7 separate regions of the Homo sapiens genome follow, and all the other regions are linked to region 1. Evidence: promoter capture Hi-C in 16 types of primary human blood cells and fetal thymus (Javierre and others, 2016). All regions are on one chromosome and are shown on one strand. Each heading gives the region's core, a stretch centred on a gene start or on the middle of the fragment in contact. The rest is flanking DNA. Distances are from core to core; before and after follow the strand shown. Region 1 holds the start of ANAPC10 (anaphase promoting complex subunit 10). Region 2 overlaps ZNF827 (zinc finger protein 827). Region 3 has its middle 51 kb from the start of GYPA. Region 4 overlaps LOC105377462 (a long non-coding RNA gene). Region 5 overlaps LOC105377460 (a long non-coding RNA gene). Region 6 has its middle 11 kb from the start of ZNF827. Region 7 overlaps LOC105377460 (a long non-coding RNA gene).

What was found. The method cuts DNA at HindIII sites, captures the fragments that hold promoters and counts their contacts. A CHiCAGO score of 5 or more calls a contact.
Region 2: a fragment that was not itself captured here is called in contact with the fragment with the promoter of ANAPC10 in region 1 in 5 of 17 cell types (total CD8 T cells, activated CD4 T cells, naive CD4 T cells and 2 more); the score reaches 9.7 in total CD8 T cells.
Region 3: a contact is called between a fragment that was not itself captured here and the fragment with the promoter of ANAPC10 in region 1, in 4 of 17 cell types (naive B cells, M2 macrophages, fetal thymus and 1 more). The highest score is 7.2, in naive B cells.
Region 4: a contact is called between a fragment that was not itself captured here and the fragment with the promoter of ANAPC10 in region 1, in 2 of 17 cell types (M1 macrophages and M0 macrophages). The highest score is 6.8, in M1 macrophages.
Region 5: a fragment that was not itself captured here is called in contact with the fragment with the promoter of ANAPC10 in region 1 in 1 of 17 cell types (megakaryocytes); the score reaches 5.9 in megakaryocytes.
Region 6: a contact is called between a fragment that was not itself captured here and the fragment with the promoter of ANAPC10 in region 1, in 1 of 17 cell types (activated CD4 T cells). The highest score is 7.5, in activated CD4 T cells.
Region 7: a contact is called between a fragment that was not itself captured here and the fragment with the promoter of ANAPC10 in region 1, in 14 of 17 cell types (megakaryocytes, erythroblasts, naive CD8 T cells and 11 more). The highest score is 16.2, in megakaryocytes.

What each region holds. Positions count from the first base shown.
Region 1 is chr4:145,096,302-145,099,777 of GRCh38, forward strand. ANAPC10 (anaphase promoting complex subunit 10) reads right to left here and starts at 1,895. Exons shown (of 5, transcript NM_001256706.2): 1 at 1,819-1,895. ABCE1 (ATP binding cassette subfamily E member 1) reads left to right here and starts at 2,010. Exons shown (of 18, transcript NM_002940.3): 1 at 2,010-2,118. RefSeq lists enhancers at 1,150-2,021, 1,269-2,468, 1,602-1,651, 1,732-1,991, 2,022-2,893 and 1 more. The HindIII fragment of the contact is 4,584 bases long and covers 1-2,946 here.
Region 2 is chr4:145,926,616-145,929,742 of GRCh38, forward strand. The region is part of intron 1 of ZNF827 (zinc finger protein 827); the gene reads right to left. Among named protein-coding and RNA genes, the nearest start is that of ZNF827, 11 kb to the right of the region's middle. The HindIII fragment of the contact is 3,337 bases long and covers 188-3,127 here.
Region 3 is chr4:144,190,337-144,193,773 of GRCh38, forward strand. No RefSeq gene overlaps it. Among named protein-coding and RNA genes, the nearest start is that of GYPA, 51 kb to the left of the region's middle. The HindIII fragment of the contact is 1,726 bases long and covers 1,291-3,016 here.
Region 4 is chr4:144,340,958-144,344,323 of GRCh38, forward strand. The region is part of intron 2 of LOC105377462 (a long non-coding RNA gene); the gene reads right to left. Among named protein-coding and RNA genes, the nearest start is that of GYPA, 200 kb to the left of the region's middle. The HindIII fragment of the contact is 7,813 bases long and covers 1-3,366 here.
Region 5 is chr4:144,156,874-144,160,260 of GRCh38, forward strand. All of the region lies in intron 9 of LOC105377460 (a long non-coding RNA gene), which reads left to right. Among named protein-coding and RNA genes, the nearest start is that of GYPA, 18 kb to the left of the region's middle. The HindIII fragment of the contact is 5,750 bases long and covers 1-3,387 here.
Region 6 is chr4:145,947,698-145,951,166 of GRCh38, forward strand. No RefSeq gene overlaps it. Among named protein-coding and RNA genes, the nearest start is that of ZNF827, 11 kb to the left of the region's middle. The HindIII fragment of the contact is 6,241 bases long and covers 1-3,469 here.
Region 7 is chr4:144,173,689-144,176,971 of GRCh38, forward strand. The region is part of intron 9 of LOC105377460 (a long non-coding RNA gene); the gene reads left to right. Among named protein-coding and RNA genes, the nearest start is that of GYPA, 35 kb to the left of the region's middle. The HindIII fragment of the contact is 6,811 bases long and covers 1-3,283 here.

The DNA.
Region 1 (3,476 bases), core at 645-3,144:
AATCCCAACACTTTGGGAGGCTGAGACAGGAGGATCATGTGAGCCCAGGAGTTCAAGACCAGCCTGGACAACATGGCAAGACCCCATCTCTATTTTTAAATAAATAAAAATCTTAGGAATTCAGGTTTTGTTTCATATGACCAGATATGCAAAGCAGTGAGCTATAGTAGTCAAAAGAGCACAGAATCAAAGTTTTGGCTTCAGTATCTCCTTTAATCAGCCTAGACTTTGAGTAGGTCTGGGCTTTATTTCCTCTCCTGTTAAAGAGGTTCACTTGATGATTTTTACTTCTACAATGCTATGCAGTTCTATAATTCTGTGCCTGAAAATTCAAATGACTTTTAGCCCTAGAAAAGTCAGACTGAAATACTTTTATTCTAGGAATATATAAATATTGATCCTCATTTTATTTACTTAATTCCTTTTTTTTTAGAGACAGGATCTAGCTATGTTACCCAGGCTGGTCTTGAACACCTTGCTTCAAGCGATCCTCCCACCTCAGCCTCCCAAGTAGCTGGGATTACAGGTGTGATCCCATCACCCCACTAAGATCCTCATTTTAAATATTCATTGAGTGATGCAGAGAACAGTCATACCTGCCCTCTAGCTGTCAAAAGTTTTATTTAAGACCCAGCCCGGTGGCTCACACCTGTAATCCCAGCAGTTTGGGAGGCCAAGGCAGGTGGATTGCTTGAGCCCAGGAGTTCGAGACCAGCCTGGAATATGGTGAAACCCTGTCTCTAAAAAAATTCCAAAAAATCAGCCTGGTGTGGCGGCACACACCTGTAGTCCCAGGGGGGCTGAGACAGGAGGATCACCTGAACTGGGAGGCGGAGGTTGCAGTGAGCCGAGATCGTGCTACTGCACTCCAGCCTGCGTAACAGAGCAAGACACTGTCCCAAAAAGCACAAAAATAAGAAAAAAATGTTAAAAGTTCACTTACATATGCTCTTACCATAGAAGATAAGGTCAGGAAAATGGCTTCAAGATTTTGAAGTGAATAACTGGCCCATTCTAAAAAGGTTGACCTCATCTTTCACATCTTTTGTTAATTTTACTAAGTCTATTCATATGTGAAAAAACACTTCAATACTGGATCGTGAACAATATGTAAAACTGCTTTGGTAGCGCAGTTACTGCTACTGAACATTGTTATATATGCTATTCAAAATAGGTGCAATAGTTCTGCATACCGTTTCCTTGACACCTCCCATTGTATCCGAAGTTGTTCTTTAATCGGCACACAAGCACTTGATACTTACTAAATAACGGCAGACACAACGGACTGTAAACTTTGGCAAGGCCTGAGGCTTAAACGCTCAATAAGTAATTTACTGAATGAATAAACAGATGAATAGGTTCAGTTATGAACTAGTTGTCACTTGCCTGCAAGTTAGGTGAGATCTAGGGCGAGACTATTCAACCTGCAACCATCATTACTAACTGAATGTCCTGTTACCTAAAAAAAGATAGAAATAAAGCCCATCTTTAGGGCAGAATTCAACTGCCGGACTTGGGACTGGACGCCACCAAGTGGATAAAATATGGAGCTCGGAAAAGATTGGATTCCCGGCCCTGAACTGACCACACAGTTGAGAGGAAGTTGAGGCCTAGAAGAGCGCGCAACAGTAAGCCGTGTCGGCACCAGACTCTGTTGGTCCTACTGACACCTCCAGCGTTAGAATGACTAAGGCTCCACTCCTGACCCACCGGCCTTGAGGAAAGCGCAAACGTAAAAAAAGATTGAAACCGGAGAGGCGAATGCATCTGTTTACGCTAGGACCACGCTCGACGTCGGAGAAAAGCCCACACACTCACAGTTTCCAGACCTGGCTGCTTGCCGAAACTCAGATTCTCGGCACCTCCAGCAGCTGGCTTCGCCAACGGCGTTGAACAAGGGTCGCAGCTCAATGACGTCATATCTCCCTACCTACCTCCAGGGTTCCGCCTCACGCTCTATGTCGCGCGCGCGCACTACGTCCTATGGCTTGCGCGTGCGGCGGCTGGGCACCGCCATTTTGGCCGGTGGCCGTGAGAACACGCTGTGTGGCTGAAAAGTGAAGGCAAGAGCTGATTTGGCCTCTGTGCTCCCCTCCGCAAGGGGATCGTTTTCTCCAGGTACGTGAATAGCCCGGAGAGGTTTGGCCGTTAGCTGCCATCTGCCAGGTTGGAAAGAATGTAGGGACGTTCTCCGAGAGCCTTTGGTTAGGCCTTAGGTGGCGGAGACAGCAGCAGCGCGTGGCAGCGGTTCCTGCGGGACAGCTGGAACTGATGGAGCGCGGGCGACGCCGAGAGCTTGGGGGCGCCTCGGTCTTCCCCTCCAGCCGACCCGGCTGTCGCCGCTGTTGCCTGCCACACCCGCGAGGGACTTCGAGAATGGACCTAGATGCCGTAGTCTCCACTCCCCCTTTACCCCACTCCCGCCCTGAAGCTAAACCTGCTGGAGAGGAAGGCACCTTTAGAACTTACAGCACTCTCTAGTACCCCCACACTCCTCCAGCACCCAAAATGGATATATTGTCACATGTGCATATTTGGTTGTGGGAAGTCGTGGCTTCCACGTTTTGTTGAGTGGAATGAGTCATGGCATCTTGCCGCCATGAAGTCGAATACTCGCTGTCCACTCCCAGGCTTTATAGAAATGATGCCCACATGTCACTCTGCTTTTCTCAGAACAGCGTGTACGCAGCTATGACTGGGGTTGTCCCAAGTAGTTTCCCAGTAGAAATCCTATAGTTTTTTTGGTACGCTTTTGTAGCACTAGGCACTTTCTCCCCTTACCCGTTTTTCCTTTTATTGTATCTAATACTCATTGAGATCAAGGTTGATGTCTTTACTCAGAATACCTTTATTATCTCTTCAGGGCTTCGTACATTGTAGGCATTTAATACGTATTGTGAATGAATGACAGCCAAAGCCGAATTCCCACCTCCCATTAACTACATAAGCTTATTTTCTCTTTTTTGATGGTAAAAATCTATAAGAGGAAGAACTGTCCAAATAACATGTTTTATTTTTTTACTCTTTCCCAACAGGACTGCTAACTAGTCATTTATGATAGTGGCATTTATGTTGCAGTAGTTTGTCCCATATTCTGAGAATATTCATTGTATACCAGCCACCTGACACTAATACTTTGTTAGTGTAACCAAAGGCTCAGAACCTGTATTTGAACCAAAAGCTGTTTGGGGTTTGTGAGCTTTTTGAGAACTTAGTTCTCCCCTATTTTAAAAAAGGGAGTTTTTTTGTTTGTTTGTTTGTTGGAAGAGCATCTAACAATTGGGAGAGAGGGGGAGAAAACAATATTAAGTTAGAGTTCTTCTAAATGTCTTAAACTTAAAACTCTTTGAAATCAGAGCCGTGTACCACTCCTAACTTCTACGTGTTTTGTAAGACTAATAAACTACAATAAGCATGGGTTAGACTATTTCATGTGATACTAAACATCATTAGTTAACAGCAGTCTTTGAAATGCT
Region 2 (3,127 bases), core at 606-3,105, 830 kb after region 1:
CTGGGGGTGGAAGTTGGGATGAGGGGACTTTCATACTTAAGCATTATCGCATGAGTTTAATTATTTATACTAAGCATATACTACTTTTGTCATTAAAAGCCAATATCAATTTTTAAAAATAAATTAATAGTTAATATTTGTGTTTTCTATGGTTTCAGCCTTATGGAGTACGCCCAAGTCATGTTTAAGCTTCTCATACTTTTTCTCTTCTTCTGCACATATTTTTTCACCTATCAACAAGTATGTGAGTAGCCATTTGTGCACAGCACTTCTAACTACGATCTAGTAGCCAACCCAAACCCTACTTCTGGATTGTGAAATTTCTCTCTTTCTATAAATGTCACAAAGCAGCTCACTGTAATTTGATTTCTCACTTTCTTAAGGTCAGATTAAAACCCAGTAAGTTATTATTTGAAGTTTGCCTTCCTCTAGAAGGGAGAAATCATATAGCACATTTCAGTAACGTTTCCTGGAGCGTAGGGTCTCCCACACTTTGTTTCCTCCCAAATACAGCTGTGTTTCATGCTCTAGAGAGGACTGTTGGGTTAACAAGTACGGCCAAACAAGTGCAGATTAGAAAACGCCGCCTAATTCTAGGCCATTACGCAAAGGCAGTGCTCTCCATATGGAGCACATAATTCAGGCCTCAGACAGTGTCACTGCATGTGACTCCGTTCTACTATTCTCTGCTTAGTCCCTGCTCTCAAGGAGCTCAGAGACAAGTGAGCAGAGAAAGAGATGGAAACAAATAATTAAAATTCAGCTTGAAAAGTATTTTCATAAACTTATGAAGTGCTGATCAGAAAACAGAGAGTAGGACCAATAGGGTAGAAGTTAGAAGGAAGATACATTTGATTTGATAAGACTGAGATGAACTCAGATCTTAAGTCTTTGAGGAGGGAAATACTATTGGCAGCAGAGGTTTTCATGAATCATGGGGCCATCACGTTCCATCAACACCTAAGGGGTTCTCCTGTAGTGGAGAGGCTCTAAGCAATTTATAGTGGCCAAAACCATCTCCTTCAGGCTGTGAGATCCCATGTAGATTTCACAGACCTACAGCTGCACTGTGTCTCAAGAGACCATCAAATGGTCCAGCCCTTGGTAGTGCTGACACTGGTGACTACAAGCTAATTTCTTCCTTTCTCTGGGTCTGTGTCCACTTCTGTCCAATCAGTGGGAGAAGCAGCCCTTCCCTGCCCACCTCACAGGCAGATGATAAAGTGCTTCATGAAGAATAAAGCATAATACAAACAGAAGGTTTGAGTAATGTACTGTTTTCCGTTTTACATGATGGAGCTACTTAAGCACAGAGATGGTTAAGTGACTTGCCCAAGGTCACAAAGCCAGTGAAAAACCTTGGTGATGGGAGAGTTTAAGGGAGAAGACTGCAGTCTGTGTCTCCTGCCTACTGTAGATTCCTTCCATCAGTCTCTCTGGTTTCCAACCTCGAGGAGTTGCAGTCCATTACCCAGGTCCACGAGCTAATTTTAGGGTTTTAAGAGCCTGAAAAAATACCATCAATAAGCTGACCAGGCTCACCATCTCCTGTCTTTATTTTTGACTGAAATGATAACATCCCAGAGTGGGAGTTCTGGTTAGTTCAGGGGTCCTCAACTCGGGATTAAGCAAATGAATCACATCACCCAGGGAGCTTTTAAAAAACGTTCATGCTCAAGCTCCACTCTGGGTCAATTCAACTTAAATCTCTGGGGGTGTTTGTATTTTTTAAAAATCTCCCAGGTGATTCTAATACATCTGGTTGAGAACCACTGGGTTGGCTGATGGTGATCAGAAACTGACGGACAGCAATAGTTTTCCTTGACTAATTACATAATACAGTTCAAGCAATCCTCAGTTGACATGAATTCACACCTCAAGTGTGTTAATATGGCCAGCATTTACTGTGCACATACCCTATGCCAGACACAAATCTAAAATATCTACGTGTATAGGCTGACTTAGTCTCAGAGAACCTACAATGGTCTCCCACTTCACAAATGAGAAAAACAGGCAGATAACTGCAGTAACTCGCTTGTGTCACGGCTGCAATGTGGTGCTGCTAGGATAGGGATTACTATACGGCTTCTTGATACTGCCATCAAATGTGCTATACAACACCTGAGAGTCAGTGATGAATGGAAAGATCAAAGAATGCTGGGGAATGCAGAACAGTTTCTAATCCAAACGCCTACAGGGATCAGGAGGTAAGATACCTGAGGGAGGTGGGCAGGTGTATATGCATATGGGGACATGGTGGCCGAGTGGCAGGAACTGTGGCAGACTGACGAGCACATGCCTGGGGAATGGAGACAGCCGCCACCGACTACAGCAGATTGCTGCCATGTGGGGAGGTGGGCCCAGTGCGAGTGACTCTTCCAAGTTTTCAAAGGAAGCTGGAAATTTGGATTTTTATATGAAACCTCCGATTTCCAAAATGTTGTCTCAAGTTTTTAAACAGTATCTGTGTGGGGCAAAACACATTACTATGGCACCAGCTTGTAACCTACGATATGATCTCTCTTTCCCACTGTGCTCACATATACACAACCCCATCCTTCATTTAAGATTCATTGCATGTATTCTCTTGATTTGGTTCTCTGTGATTAGAAACAGCAGACCCTGCCTTTCCTTCTTTCTGTGTAAATAAACTATTACCTATGTAACATATGGAACACCTAATATAAATTTCGTCTGTGTTACTCTAACCAGTGGGCTGCCTGTTGAACAGAAGAATAAATAAATATTTATGGAATACCTATTCTCTAATTTGAGTCTCACTCTAAGTGTCTAAAGGAGGATTTAGTATCCTCACTTTATAGTAAAATCTGGTTATAATGCATATGATTATTACACAACTTAGATATAATTCAGGTCAAATCATATAAACAGAGAAACTCATTCCTGTAGTAAAAGCCTAATATAATATTGTTGGCCTATGAAACAAGTATTAGTCAAGCCCTACAATAATAGCCTTGTAAAAGAATTTTACCATATCATATTATTATTACTCACCACACTAATGAGATATATTGAGAAAAAAAAACCATAGAAACCACCAAAAAGTTCCAGGTCAGAAATACCTGTAATCTATTCACAATCTAAACAAACTGAAACACCTTTCACA
Region 3 (3,437 bases), core at 904-3,403, 910 kb before region 1:
AGTATTTCTAGAAGTGGATCCTCACTATTTCTAACAACATCAAAATAGCCAGTCAAAAGTAAAAACTTTGTACAAGCCACAGATACATGCTGTAAAAAAATCTTTTCCTTGATTTAACTGGGTTACTTTCCCTTCACTGAATTGACAAGTTAATATTATAGGTATGGTCTAAATTTAAGCTCAGAAAGTATACCCTGGAAACATTTAAGGGCAATGTTGGGGGGAAAAAGTCTAGGATTTGCTGGGTGCTGTGGCTTATGCCTGTAATCCCAGCACTTTGGGAGGCTGAGACAGGAGGATAAAGGTTGAGACCAGCCTGGGCAACACAGTAAGTCCTAGTCTCTAAAAACATTAAAAAATTAGGGGGATGTTGTGGTGCGCACTTGTAGTCCCAACTACTCGGGAGGCTGATGCAAGAGGATGCTTGAGTCCAGGAGTTTGAGGCTGCAGTGAAGCCATGATCATGCCACTTAACTTCCCTGGGGGACAGAGCAAAACCCTGCCTCTAAAAAAAAGTCTACAATCTGAACCAAAGAATAAGTATGTCAATGAATAAGTCTAACCAACCCCACTCATACTGTGTCCTACTCTTTGCTTTACTTCTTGTCTCTATTCCACATATGCCTTGTTCTCAACCAACAGCACTGTCCCCATATTCTGCCTTCCACTTGCCCAATTAGCTTGTGATCTCTAGGGTCTTTGTACTTGCCCCTGTGATTCTTAGTGTTTTATTTTCTCTGGAGGATGGCATAGCCAGGATCATAGGGGTCCTGGTGCCACCCTTCGGGTGTCCAGGGTCTTCCTCCTGCTCTCTGGTGACCCTTCATGGCCATGACTTGCAATGCACACTCCTGTGACACATCTCACCTCTTCTCTTTCTCACCAAAATATTCCTATAAGCTATCCCTTTCTCTAAAGCTCCTGCTAGTAGGCTTGATAATCTAAGATACTCTTTCAGGTCAGGGTGATAATAATTAACTCAATCCTTTTGTGTGCATTACACATTAGAATGCTTGGAGAAATTAAACACTGTTTACCTGAAAACATATTAATGAACTATAATTGGCAAACAATGAAGATGATATTAGTGCATAAAGGGAGGCTTCCGGTTGTCCCCTCATGTCCAACCCTGTGGCTCAGTGGGTTAAAGGCTACCTGGACCCCACTGCATCTTCTCTGCCTAGATGCTTGGTGTTCAGAGACTATACCTTACAGTCTGTTTACATACGTTCCCATTTCACAGGTAAAATAAAATAAAGAAGGGACTATTCTTGGAAGTTTGATTAAGGAAGCTTGATGTAAATTTATTTGACTGATGAGTAAGTAGAGAAAAATGAAAGATACTTCTAATGTATATGTTATAATAGAGAATTGAAGAATTCTGGAATTTTATACCTGATAGGAGAATGAAAGTGCTCTGAAATTTAAATGATTAATAACAGAATAAGAACTTTTTGGCTTTTCAACAGTGTACTTATAAATCATACATTACAGTATAAATTATATTGTATGATAATACTGTATGAATTTCTAACTATGTTACTCATATTTCATGTGATAGTGCTGAAGTTATTGGCAACTTGGATAGTGCACTAATGTTATATATATTTAAAATATAATGTGTATATATATGTATACACATACATATATGAAGATTTGAGGAATTGAAGACAATGTTAAATATACTTTCAATTTGTTCTTTTAAATTTGAATTTTTAAATTCTTACAAATTTCAGGGTAAGAAAAAACTATTATGTCATCATCTCAGTATTAGGAATTCAGATAAAACAAAACATCAACATCCATTTGTTGCCTTGGTTTTTAAATTGGTGAGCACTCTACCATAAAGTTCATGCTTCAAAGATTTTAAGAGATGAGCTTGGATGAGATAAATGTCCTTCATGCTTAATTCTTACACCTAATCTTAAATAGACACTACAACATCACTATTTCACCCACTCATTCCATAAGCATCTGCTAAGAATTTATTATAAACCAGGCATTTTGCTAGGCACTGGAGAACATACACAGTGCAATCAAACATTTCTGCCTTTGGCAGTGACTGTTAGTCCTTACTAATATGTTCTCCTTTTTCAGGGCACACAGATGGATGGCATTTTCCAGTCTCCTTTATCATGTTCTGGCTAGCAGAATGAAGGTGGCTATGTTACATGCCTCCTTCAGAACCACCCTACAAATATATCCTGTGTATGATTCTCTTTCTGTTTCCCATCTGCTGCAGAAATGAATAAGTCTTCAGGGACCAGATGGGCGCAGTGGCTCACGCCTGTAATCCCAGCACTTTGGGAGGCTGAGGTGGGTGAATCACGAGGTCTGGAGTTTGAGACCAGCCTGTCCAATATGGTGAACCCCCGTCTCTATTTAAAATACAAAAATTAGACTGGCGTGGTGGCACACGCCTGTAGTCCCAGCTACTCGGGAGGCTGAAGCAGAAGAATCGCTTAAACCTGGGAGGCAGAGGTTGCAGTGAGCCAAGGTTGTTGAGCCACTGCACTCCAGCCTGGGTGACAGATCGAGACCCCATCTCAAAAAAAAAAAAAAAAAAAAAAGAAAAAGAAAAGAAAAGATAAAAGACTCCAAGGACTTAGAAGAGAGAGGAATCTCAAGAAGAAATGAGCCTGGGTTCCTGAATGATTCTTCCAACCACCATGAACTTACATTGGACTGTGACTTAACAAGACATAAATGTCATTGTGTTAAGCCACTAAGATGCTCTAAATGCTTGTTAAAGCATTTAGTCAACTGTATCAGTCTAGCTCTATGATGAATAACCTTAAACATAGTGACATAAGACTAAAACTAATCTGTGTGTTAGCAATTTAGACAGGGCTCCACAGAAATGGGTCATCTTTTCTCCTCTAGGCACTGGCCAGGCTCACTCATGGGTTTATGGTCAGTTGGCAAGTCATATGGAAGCTGGCTGGTCCCGGATGAAGAATTGGCAGAGCCATGTGTCTCCAGGATGCTAGCCAAGACTTTTTCAAGAAGAAAGGCAAGCTTCTATTCATAAGCATTTTTTTATTGTACTTTAAGTTCATGTGCACAACGTGCAGGTTTGTTACATATGTATACATGTGCCATGTTGCTGTGCTGCGCCCATTAACTCATCATTTACATCAGGTATATCTCCTGATGCTATCCCTTCCCGCTCCCCCAACCCCATGACAGGCCCCAGTGTGTGATGTTTCCCTTCCTGTGTCCAAGTGTTCTCATTGTTCAATTCCCACCTATGAGTGAGAACATGCGGTGTTTGGTTTTTTGTCCTTGGGATAGTTTGCTGAGAATGATGGTTTCCAGCTTCATCCATGTCCCTGCAAAGGACATGAACTCATCCTTTTTTATGGCCGCATAGTATTCCATGGTGTATATGTGCCACATTTTCTTAATCCAGTCTATCATTGATGGACATTTGGGTT
Region 4 (3,366 bases), core at 44-2,543, 760 kb before region 1:
TCACCATATGGAATGCAACCTCCATGATTGTGTGTAACATCGCTGCCCATGGTTCTTTCCAACAGCAGTCTGAATAATGCCTTTAAAATACATGTAAGTCAGATTACCTTGCTGCTGTGCTCCAAACACTCATGTCTCCGCATTTTACTCAGTCTTTACAAGGGGACTTCCAGCCCTTTGTCATCTGGCCCTTGTTACCTCTCATATCTCATCTTTACTCTTCTCCCACTCATTCACCACTTATTAAAATCAGCCTTGGTGCTGTTCTTCAAACATGACAGACATGTCCTCACCTCAGGGTCTTTGCTCTTGCTCTTTCTTCAGGCCACAGTGATTTGTCTACAATATCCAAATGGGTGTCTCACCCCCTTCAAGTATTTGGTCAAATGTCCCTTTCTCAGTGACACCTACTCTATTTTGTTAATATTGGCAACCCACACCTCTACCTCCACACTTCCCAATCCCTTTATTTTGCCTCAGTTTCTCCTATAACACATAATCCTCTGACATTTTATATATAAATTATTATATTTGTTATAAGCTCTGAGAAGGTAGGGGTGTTTGATTTATTCACTCCTGTATCATCAAATAATATGTAATATTTAGTACATGCCCAATATTTGAATGAATGAATGAAAAAATTCTTTTTTATCTCAATTTGGGCTTTCCTAGAAGTGGACCCTAACCCAGTGATCCAGGTGCATGTAATTTATTTGGAAGGTGACCCCAGTAAACACTGCTAGGAGAATGGGGAAGCAAGACATGAAGCGAAGGCAGGCTATGAAGAGAGTTTTCAAACCCTCATGCTCAAGCCCACCGGGGGTCCCTGGGAGCCAGTGAAGATTACAAGCCTCAGAGCTGTCGCCCCGAGAGGCTAAAGAGTCTGGATTTTTATCCGACAAGTACTGAGAGGGACATTTATTTTCTGGCCCTGCCTTTCTGCCATGCGCACAGGGCATAACAGACTCCATCCTCCAAAGTCTTCAGTGAAAGAGATCACTGCCAGCAGCAGAAGTCAAGCCAGTTCCCATGGAACTGTGAGGCCCAAAGGCACACGCATGGGACATCAAAAGCATCTGGTATGCTTCCCCGCCAGGAATAAGAGGAAGAACCTCTATGTGCCACATAAGTAAAGTTACGAATAGGGCAACTTGATAATACTATAATGTTCGTGTTGTAACACCCATCTTATCTGTTGGAGGATGAAGATGGGGAGTCGACAGAGGAGATGAGGGCACTTAGTGGCTGTCCTGTGAGACTCAAGAAGGGAACAGCTTCTTTCCAAGAACTGATGAGAAGCCTGAACCAGGACCCAGTAGAAGAAAAGGAACCCCTTGAGTTGCTGTTTGGCTGTTTATAGACAGCGTCCAAGTTGGTCAGTGCCGCTGACAATAGGTACTGCTAAATATTTTGAATATTAACCCTTAGAAGTGGCCTATTCACTAAAACAGACCTGGAATATCAAAGGGTCACCAAAGCACCGAGGAAGCCCTGGGGCAGACATGGGGATCTGGAATGCAATAAGAAGCATCAAAGAGCAGGGAGTAATGGGTTGAGGGGATGAGAGGGCGGGTGGTCTGGGTAAATGCCTAAGATGAGAACAGTTCTCTTTAGATGCTTTTATGTTTTTCCGTAGCATGATGTGTTGATAGATCAGATAGTTTAGGGGGCCTGGGAAAGGGTACATATGTAAGATACCTTATAGGCAGGACAGCCTTACCATGAATTCTCTTTGATCTTTTAATCCACCAGAGTCAGGTGCATTCAGAATCCACAAAGAGAAATCTTCCCTAGTGACTATGATGATGCAAGTTCCATCTACAACAGGTTGCCAAAGATCCCTGCCTATTTCCTATTTAGGAGTTGTGGGTGCCTCAGGGGTCATATTGTACTTTTGTCTGACCCCCCCAAAAGCATCTCTTTGCAATGTAAAGAGAGAGTCAGAATTCTCCCCTTCCCCACCCAATTCTGCCAGAATGTGTTTAGGCCTGATGTTATTTTTCCTCTAAGCCTATCCTCATTTTTCTTAGGTGCTTGGCTGAAAGCATGGGCTAAATTGGATGACTGATAATGACAGTTAATGCTGTGGTAACTGAACATAAAGAAAAGAAGTAAAAAAGAAACAAGTGAGTAATGAGAAACAGATTATTTGAGTCCTGCAATGAGACCTCTAATACAATGGTGGAAGTTAGAGTTGAGGAAGTCCAAGGTGGAAATAATGAACTCCAGGATAAAGCGCTGTCACGAGGCATGCCTTATTGTTCCAGATAAGTTAAAACAGCTTCCAATGGTATAAAACATCACTTTGAATTCTCGTCAAAGCAGGGAAACCATGGTCTCAGGGTGAATGTTCCAATGGCAGCCTGACCAGCGTCACTTCACAACCATGACCACGTCTAAAACTGAAAGATGACTTTAGCCGCTGTTCCCACAAAGTGGTTTCAACACGATGACAGTGTGATGCAGAAAACCTAGAGCTAAAAAACTGAATGTATATTCTCTTTAGAGTAAAAGGAAATGACTACAAGCCTGGTAATAAATGTGGCAGCTTACTAGAAAGGCAGGTTTAAAGAATAAGGAAATTCATGTTAGAGCTTAAATTGAAAACAGGTGCCAAGCCTATTTCATGGATCCATAGAATGTCAGAACTGGAGGAGACCCAGAAGTGACTCATCCAATTCCCACATTTGATGTATCAGGAAACTCAGGTCACAAGAAGTGAAGTGACTTGTTCAATGCCACACACAGTGTCAGATTTATCTCCTAATTTAAAATTTAGTCTTCTTTTCAGACATTTGAATACCTCTGCCAAAAAAATAATAAAAGAAGCCTCTGCTTTTTTAAACAAGATCTATTATAAATTTGAATTCTAAAAAAATGACACCTATCTGACCATTTTCCCTACTACCACATCCTCTAACACCTTACATTTGAACCACATTTTCACCAGTGGTGACACATTTTCCCAGTGTCTTAGGTGGTTCAAAACGCTGGAGCCCTCCCTGAGTGTTTTCTTCACTTGACTCTTTCCGTCTCTCCCTATAGCCAAAGTACCAATATAAGCCTCAACAAATCTACTTTATTGTATCAGTGGTCTTTTACCTATACTTTTTGCTTCCCACATCTTCCTTCCATTATCAACCTTAAACATTGGGAAAATTATCATGTCATTTTCTGATTCCAAAATCTCTAATATTTATTTCATACCCAGAAGGGAAAATCTAATCTCTTCCACTAACAATCTCCATTATGGAATTAAACCCTCCCTTATGCATTAACAAATAGCTGCCATTACTCACCAGTAGGAGACTCTAGCATCTCTCCTCTTTACTTTTTCAGAAATGCACTCCATATACACCTTCTGCA
Region 5 (3,387 bases), core at 466-2,965, 940 kb before region 1:
TATAAGTTCTTTGTAGATGCTGGATATTAGTCCTTTGTCAGATGGATAGATTGCAAAAATTTTCTCCCATTCTGTAGGTTGCCTGTTCACTCTGATGATAGTTTCTTTTGCTGTGCATAGTATTGGAAGTTCTAGCCAGGACCATCAGGCAAGAGAAAAAAATAAAGGGTATTCAAGTAGGAAAAGAGGAGTGTCAAATTGTCTCTGTTTGCAGATAACATGATTTTATATTTAGAAAAACCCCATCATCTGATCCCAAAATCTCCTTAAGCTGATCAGCAACTTTAGCAAAGTCTCAGGATACAAAATCAATGTGCAAAAATCACAAGCATTCCTATACACCAATAACGGACAAACAGAGAGCCAAATCATGAGTGAACTCCCATTCACAATTGCTACAAAGAGAATAAAATACCTAGGAATCCAACTTACAAGGGATGTGAAGGACTTCTTCAAGGAGAACTACAAACCACTGCTCAAGGAAATAAGAGAGGACACAAACAAATGGAGAAACATTCCATGCTAATGGATAGGAAGAATCAATATCATGAAAATGGCCATACTGCCCAAAGTAATTTATAGATTTAATGCTAACCTGATCAAGCTACCATTGACTTTTTTCACAGAATTGGAAAAAAGGTACTTAAAATTTCATATGGAACCAAAAAAGAGCCCACATTGCCCAGACAATCCTAAGCAGAAAGAACAAAGCTGGAGGCATCAGGCTATCTGACTTTAAACTATACTACAAGGCTACAGTAACCAAAACAGCATGGTACTGGTACCAAATCAGATATATAGACCAATGGAACAGAACAGAGGCCTCAGAAATAATACCACACATCTCCAACCATCTGATCTTTGACAAACCTGACAAAAACAAGCAATGGGGAAAGGATTCCCTATTTAATAAATGGTGTTGGGAAAACTGGCTAGCCATATGCAGAAAGCTGAAACTGGATCCCTTCCTTACACCTTATACAAAAATTAACTCAAGATGTATTAAAGACTTAAACATAAGACCTAAAACCATAAAAACTCTGAAGAAAACCTAGGCAATACCATTCAGGACACTGGCATGGGCAAAGACTTCATGACTAGAACACCAAAAGCAATGACAAAAAAAGCCAAAATAGACAAATGGTTGAACTACTTTACAGTCCAAAATAGACAAATGGGATCTGATTAAATAATCTATTTCTTTTTTAAAAAAAACTTTTATTTTAGGTTCAGGGGTACGTGTACAGGTTTGTTATGTCACACCGTCACAGGGGTTTGCTGTACAGAGTATTTTGCCACACAGTTACTAAGCCCAGTACCCAATAGTTATCTTTTTCTGCTCCTCTCCTCCTGCCACCCTCCACCCACAAGGAGACCCCAACGTGTGTTGTTCCCTCTTCATGTTCATGAGTTCTCATGATTTAACTCCCACTTTTAAGTCAGAACATGTGGTATTTGTTTTTCTGTTCCTGCATTAGTTTGCTAAGGATAATGGCCTCCAGCTACATCCATGTCCCTGCAAAGGATGTGATCTTGTTCTTTTTTATGGCTGAATAGTATTCCATGGTGTATATGGAATTTTCTTTATCCAATCCAACATCAATGAGTATTAGGTTGATTCCATGTCTTTGCTATTGTGAATAGTGCGGCAATGAACATACATTTGCATGCATCTTTTTTTTTTTTCTTTTTTTTGAGATGGAGTATCTGTCACCCATGCTGGAGTGCAATGGCACAATCTCGGCTCATTGCAACCTCTACCTCCTGGGTTTAAGCAATTCTCCTGCCTCAGCCTCCTGAGTAGCTGGGATTACAGGCACACCTGGCTAATTTTTTTTTTTTTTTTTTTTTGTATTTTTAGTAGAGACGGGGTTTCACTATGTTATTATGCTGGTCTTGAACTCCTGACCTCGTGATCCACCTGCCTCGGCCTCCCAAAGTGCTGGGGTTACAGGCATGAGCCACTGTGCCCAGCCATGTGCATGCATCTTCACGGTAGAATGATTTATATTCCTCTGGGTATGTACCCAGTAATAGGATTGCTGGGTTGAATGGTAGTTCTTTTTATATTTCTTTGAAGAATCACCACACTGCCTTCCACAATGGTTGAACTAATTTACATTCCCACCAACAGTGTATAAGTGTTCCCTTTGCTCCGCAACCTTGCCAGCATCTGTTATTTTTTGACTTTTTTGTTCATCTTTTTTTTTTTTTTGAGACAGAGTCTCACTTTGTCACCCAGTCTAGAGTGCAGCGGCGCAATCTCTGCTCACTGCAAGCTCCGCCTCCCAGGTTCACGCCAGTCTCCTGCCTCAGCCTCCCGAGTAGCTGGGACTACAGGCACCTGCCACTGCGCCCGGCTAATTTTTTGTATTTTTAGTAGAGACGGGGTTTCACTGTGTTAGCCAGGATAGTCTCGATCTCCTGACCTCGTGATCCGCATGCCTCAGCCTCCCAAAGCGCTGGTATTACAGGAGTGAGCCACTGCACCTGGCCGACTTTTTAATTATAGCCATTCTGACTGATATGAGATGGCATTTCATTGTGGTTTTTATTTGCATTTCTCTAATAATCAATGATGTTCAGCTTTCTTTTCATGTGCTTGTTGGCCACATGTATGTTTCCTTTTGAAGAGTGTCTGGTCATGTTCTTTGCCCACTTGTTAATGGGGTTACGTGTATTTTTCTTGTAAATTTGTTTAAGTTTCTTATAGATACTAGATATTAGACCTTTGTCAGATGCAGAGTTTGCAAAATTTTCTTCCATTCTGTAGGTTTTCTGTTCCTTATGTTGATAGTGTCTTTTGCTGTGAAGAAGCTCTTTAGTGTAATTAGATCCCATTTGTCAATGTTTGCATTTGTTGCAATTGCTTTTGGCATGAAATCTTTGCCTGTTCGTATGTTCAGAATGGTATTGCCTAGGTTTTCTTCCAGGGTTTTTATAGTTTTGGGTTTAACATTTAAGTCTTTAATGCATCTTGAGTTGATTTTTACATGTGGTTTAAGGAAGGGGTCTAGTTTTAATCTTCGGCATACGGCTAGCCAGTTATCCCAGCACCATTTATTGAATAGGGTGTCCTTTTCCCATTGCTCGTTTTTGTCAGCTTAGTCAAAGATCAGATGTTTGTGGGTGTACAGCCTTATTTCTGTGTTCCAGTGGTCTATACATTTGTTTTTGTACCAGTACCATGCTGTTCTTTTCTGTTCCATTGGTCTATACATTTGTTTTGTACCAGTACTATCTTCCCTTTTCTGTTCCATTGGTCTATACATTTGTTTTTGTACCAGTACCATGCTGTTTTGATTACTGTTGCCCTGTAGTATAGTTTGAAGTCAGGTAGCATGATGCCTCCAGCTTTGTTCATTTTGCTTAGGATTGCCTTGACTA
Region 6 (3,469 bases), core at 511-3,010, 850 kb after region 1:
TTATGGCAGGGGGCAGGGCAGGGAAGGGGTGCAGAGAAGGAGTAATGATCAGGTAGAGTCAGTCTCCCAAAGGAAAGCCTTGGTGCCACAGGATCTAGGACCATCTCAGGTCCATGCTCTGAACAAATTTAAGGTGACGTAAGCAAAACTGATGAGTGGGCAACACTGATCTCCAAGACCCCTTCCTTGATGTTTCCTCGATCCTTTCTCCTGTCTCCACTTCTGGAATGTTTGATGCCATTTGCTCTCTCAGCAGTACCGGTCCTTTTAGCAACCAGAAATACCACTGTGTTGTCCCACTTAAACCTCTCCTGATAGATGGTCCCATAATCTTTCTTTATTCAAAATATAACTGTTCTTTTTTTTTCCTTTCCATTTCCCGAGGCTTCCTCATGCTTTTTTTCTACCAAAATGATAGCTAACAGGATAACGAGAGTTCATTTTTTTCTATTTTCCAAGTTTTTAACAGTGAAACATATATTATTACTATAATTTAAAACTTTTTTGAACCGCAACAAAAGTAAGTTAGCTACTCAATGCCAATGTCTTCAGTGATACAAATAGCATATCCTCTTTTACCAACAGGGATACCTTTGAAATACCCAGAAAGTAAAAGATGTCATAGAATAAATATGGCCATCTTTCTGGAATGCTCCTTTTGCTGATACGTTTGTTGAAAGTTAAGCAATTTAACTTTGAAATAATTTAAAATGTACTTTTATTAAGATATGTATGGAGATACCATGTACTCTGGTTTTTCTCATTAAAGATGAGGACAATGACAATATTGTACTTCCCTTACATGAGGTTGCTGTGGGGTCTAACTGAATCTAAGCACTGTAGCTGGTATATGCTGCTGCTCCTGACGGCATGGGATATGCCATGAGGTCCAAACTCTGCATGAACTTTAAGTCAAAATGCAAGGTTTCAAAGAAATTTTGCCCAGAACCTTCTTCAGGCTCTATCCCCAGATTCCCAGGGGAAACATTTTCATTTGCTTTGGCTGCTAGAGGAAAAATCTGAATATATTACCTCTGCTTTCTGGATTCCCCATGCTTTATCCCACAGCAGTAACTTTCACAGCAGGAATTTTAGGCATTGTGGCATTCATTCAGTTATAAATTTCAGTTATAAAACATTTATTGAGGTTTTCGTGATTTGATTTTTTAAACCCACCTGTTCTCCTTCTCCTTCTCCTTCCCCTATTGTTGTTCCTGAAACAAAATAAATGACCCAGAATTATCTGGCATTCATCTGACATAAATCATAACCCACACTGGATTACTTTCAACTCTACATTATAGTCCTATGGAAAACTATAGTTCTGAATGAGGACTACTTCTTCCCTTTCAACACTTCTTTATCACTGTCCAAAAAAACCAGATAGGCAAGGAAAACTAAAAATTGAAAGAAAGAAGGAAAGAGAAAGAAGAAAAAAGAAAGCTGGAATAATAGTATCAAAAACTAAATTTACTTTATAAACTAGCACTTTCTCTGAATTCAGAAAATGATTTTTATACCAAACGAAACAAAACAAGCCCACATACACAAATTTTGATAATGTTTAACCCAATCTTGGGTTCAAGTCTTACCCTTGAAAGAACTAAAGTCACAAAACAGGTCTTGTTGTCTTGATGTGCTTTGAATGAATGGTTTTAATCACACACTATTTTAAGTACCTGTGTCATCCTGTTACTGATTTGGATGACTGCTTTCAGTCCACCACAAAATATACTCAAAACTTATTAAAAACAACAAACAATAATATTTCTGTACTCAGAGTAATGGCTAATGTTATCATACAACCTAGGCTTTGAGTATACTGTGTGAGAAAATATCCACGGCCCTTGCTCTTATGGAACAAATATCATAATGGCAAGTGATGACCATTTTTGTAAAAGGCTCTAAGGGTAACGACTTAGACTTTACTGGTTACTTTTGTTTAAAAATTAACAAAACAAAGTAATTAAATATATGAATATTGGAAAAATGATTAATGTGGTAATATTCTCCTGTTTCAGATGCTTTGGTCAAAGGGCTTGTATCTTATGGAAAGCTCCTAAGGTACATAAGTCACCGACATCTACCACTTGTTTATAATTGGGTAGCTTGTTTAAATGCACAGCCGGGCTGGGGCAGCAGGTCACACACTGTTGAGCAGGACAGTGAGGAGGGAACCTCCTGTTTCTCATTCCAGGGATTGTAAGCCCATTGTTGCTGTGTTTTCCCATCTTATAGGAGAAGCGGGATATCTAAATTTTATCGAGAAATCTCCAAGTTTTGGGACATATATACTCAACAAAATGTATCTGCAGGTCAGATCTGTTGATCATCAGTTTGTGATGATCATGTGTTATACACATGTAACTCCCAACCAACCATTGCAATTCATGCGTTATCTTATATGCATCAGACCAGAAAATAGACAAAATAATAAGGTCCTCAAATACCACTGTGTCACATATTCACAGACTCTCAATTTTGGAACTAGACTTGCATTTATCTAGACTAACTTCTGATATGATCATACTTAGTAATGAGGCAGACTCTAATTGGACAGATCGTATTGTGAGATCATTGTTTCTTAAGAGTCAGTCAAAATCTAGCATTTCCCTTTATACCCGTTAGATGGCCACTATCTGAAAAATTAAGAGCATGAAATAACAAGTGTTGCTGAAGATGTGGAAAAGTCGGAATCCTTGTGCATTGCTGCTGTGAATATAAAATGGTACAGCCACCGTGGCTTCTTAAAAAATTACATATAGAATGGCCATGTAATCCAGCAATTCTACTTCAGAGTATATATCCAAAAGAGTTGAAAGTAGGGATTCAAACATATTTGTTTATCTATGTTCATAGCAGCATTATTCACAGTATCTAAAAGGTGGAAACAAACCAAATGCCCACTGACTGACAGATACATGAGCAAACAGAATGTGGTGTATACATAACTGCAATATTATTCAGCCTTAAAAGGAGGGAAATCTTGTCCCATGCTATGACATGGGTTAGCTTTGAAGACATTATGCTAAGTGAAAGAAGCCAGACATGAAAGGACAAATACCGTATGATTCTACTCATATGAGATACTTAGAGTAGTCAAATTCATAAAGATGGAAAGTAGAATGGTGGTTGCCAGGGGCTGGGAAAGGGGGTAAATTGAGAGTTATTGTTTAATGGGTATGGAGCTTCCATTCGGGGAGATGAAAAAGTTCTGGAGATAGTTGGTGTACCTCAGTGTGAATGTACTTAATGCCATTGAGCTGTACACCTAAAATGTTTTAAATAGAAAATTATTATGTTTATTTTACCATAGTTAAAAAAATGAAATAAGGCAATCTAGCATTTTCACTCTCTACTCTCTGTGCTTTATTTTGCCCTCTGAAGCCACAGAGCATAGGTTTGCTCTTTTACATGACTATCCTCCAAATACTGGCAGAGAGCAGCCCTCGCACTCCTCCATTCTCCT
Region 7 (3,283 bases), core at 39-2,538, 920 kb before region 1:
ATTTTTTGTATTTATAGTAGAGACGGGGTTTCACCACATTGGCCAGGCTGGTCTTGAACTCCTAACCGCAGGTCATCAGCCAGCCTCGGCCTTCCAAAGTGCCGGGATTACAGGAGTGAGCCACCAGGCCCGGCCAATACCTGCACTCTTCTGTTTATTCCAGCACTATTCGCAATAGCCAACATATGGAATCAACCTAAATAAGTGTCCATCAACAAATGAATAAATGAAGAGAATGTGGTGTATAAAGAGTGGAATACTGTTCAACCATTAAAAGAATGAAATTTGGTCCTTCGTGGCAACACGGATGAGCCTGAAGGACGTTACGTTAAATGAAATAAGCCAGGCACGGAAAGACAAATACCACATGAGCTCAATCATATGTGGAAGCTAAAAAAGTTGATATCATGTAAGTAGAGAGTAGAACCGTGGTTACAAAGTCTGGGAAGAGTAGGGGGAAGAGGGGCTAGGGGAGATTGGTTAAGGGATACAAAATTATAGCTAGATAGGAGGAATGTGTTCTAATGGTCTATAGCACTGTAGTGTGGACCAGAGTTAACAACAATTTATTGTATATTTTCAAATAGCTAGAAGAGAGGATTTTGAGTATTCTCAACACAAAGAAATGATAAATGTTTGAGGTGACTGTCTTGCTCATTACCCTGATTTGATCATTACACATTGTACACATGTATGAAAATATCACATTGCACTCCACAAATATGTACACTTATTATGTGGCAATTAAAAATAATAACCAATAAATAAATAATGAGTAGAAAAATTAGAAAACGAATATGTAATATCTAACTCTGTAGAGCCCTCTATTTTAGAAAAGAAACTTGGTAGATTTGTTCTAAGATTTGATCGCTAGAGGTCACCAAAGTCACAGAAATTATCAGTATTTTTTTCTTTCCGTTTTTGAGTCACAGGCGGATGTCTCTGGCCTCTCCCATTATGCAGTGCATTTACTGGAAGACCTTTTGCTGCTTAGTCTTAAGGAGAGTAAACTGTTTGGACTAGTTTTTTCTAATATTAAATATTCCAGGAAACAGACAGCCATCTATCTATGGGACTATTCAAAACAGATGGGTGTTTCTAGAGAATGTGATTTATTTCCTTCTCTGATACCAAAGGGCCTATTGGTTGATACCTGCTGAATGTGAGTTCTGAGTAATGTTGTTGAGACAGAACCACAGAACACCCAGCAGCAGCACACACCGTTTCAAGTGAAACAGCATGGACCATTTCAAGGAAAAAACATTGTGCCTTTACTGGTAACATGTCTGGTGTAGGAGGGCTCCAATGAAGCAGAACATTCAAGAACACCCATTGCATCTTTTAAATAACAGACCACACTACCTTTTGCATGTTAATAATTCTCCATTTTTTTTTATTGAACTCAACATTAGCCTAAATCCCCAGACCCTAAATTTGTGGAGATTCAAAAACAAACAAGATTGGAATCCTGAAAAGACTCAATGAAACTGTCTCAATTTAAGAGATGCTTCTAGCAGAGATAGAAAGATATAATAGCTAATTTCAGTTTTTTTAGCATGCTCACATTTTAGGGAGGCATAATTCATATTAAAACTTTCTAATTCTGTAATTAGACAAGATGTAGCCTGTAGAAGATGAATATTTGTCAGGAGTTAAATGCAGCTAACAAAGATGCAACAGGCAAGAAGCCTTTCACATTTTCAAGGTTTCATTTACCAATAGCTACATTATTTCCCTGGTTATGTAGATAAGTTTGTGTTTAAATGGTCTCCTGCAGAAACTAAGTAAACCATTTTTTTTCCCATAAGACCTCACAGTGCTTAGATACCTGACAAATCCAAAGTTAAGGCTTTGGTACAAGCCATAACCTAAAAGACTCAAGCCAATATCAACGTGACACATTTTGCATTTAGGCTTGTTCTTTATTCAGTGGACTTCATTTGACTTTGATCTTGGTTAACTTTGAAGTATGCAAGGTTCCCACTTTCCATAAGGGTTTTTTTTTTTTTTCCAGTTAAATCAGACAGGCAGGCAAAGGAAATCTAAACCTTGAAAGAAGTGAAAACAACTAGACACAGTCAGTGATATATTTTCACTACTTTGTTTAAAACAGCACATTGCCATACTTAAAACACTTCACATCAATGAGTTATTTATTAAGTTTTAAATATAAGTCACATTTTCCACTGTATCTTAGGAGACACATTTGAAAACATGTTGGGAATCTGTTGTATGATTTGTGTGAAAAGTTTAGTTAAATGCAAAACTACAGATTGTAGTTAATGATGTACTATTACCATGAAATAGCCATTAACTTAAAGGAAATATTTATATAGGAATTACAATATATGACATTTTATATCTGAAAGCTGGATCTCTTATGGAATTTTATAGACTATGGATTTCAAAATCTACTAGAAACTAGGATTCACATATGTATTTATAAAATGATCCAGACCCACATCTCAAACATTCATTAATTTTGTTTCACCCTTATCATGTTTTAGATTTATGGAGCTATTTCTTATCATGAAGTGAACTTCACTTAATAATGAAGTACATATACACATGCACACACATAAACGTGCATGGGTGTGTACAAATTTATTATTTGGAACAAAAATAGAATCATATATGTATCATTATAAAATGTGTCGTAAAGGATATTAAGAGAAAAAACTTCTTTTTTGAGAGATTTAAAAATTCAACCCAGCCAGGTATCATTTCTCTCTTTCATGATACCTCACTTACCCTAGTTATTCTCTTCTCTTAAGTCTGCAAACTGGAACTTCCCTCTATTAAAGAAAGTAGTAAATTTGTGTTATGTCAGATTAACAGCAGGGGGTCCTGAAGTCAGTACACGTTACTATTTCAGCCCTATTCTAGAAAGAAGCAAAAATTTGAATTACATTTCAAGTCATCTAGAAGGGCTAAATTCTCTTTGGAGTAAGTCTGACCCTGTCAAATTACAAATCTAATATTGTTTTTGGACATACAGTCTGACCAGTGACTCATGTAAGAACTGTTACAGTTGAGTTACCAACTGTGGTCTTACAAACCATTTTGGAGTAGAATAAAAACTCTCCATGGATCTGGAGACAACATGTCTCATTCCTGCACCAGCTCTTTATCTTCCTATGGACATCTGGAAGAAAGCCCCCAAAATATTTACTTGTATATTTCTCTATAATTATATATATATATGTATAAAATTAAGAAGTTGAGGAAATAAACTTTAAAGAAGAGGATTTTGAGATGTAACAGTGATGTAGACTGATATGTG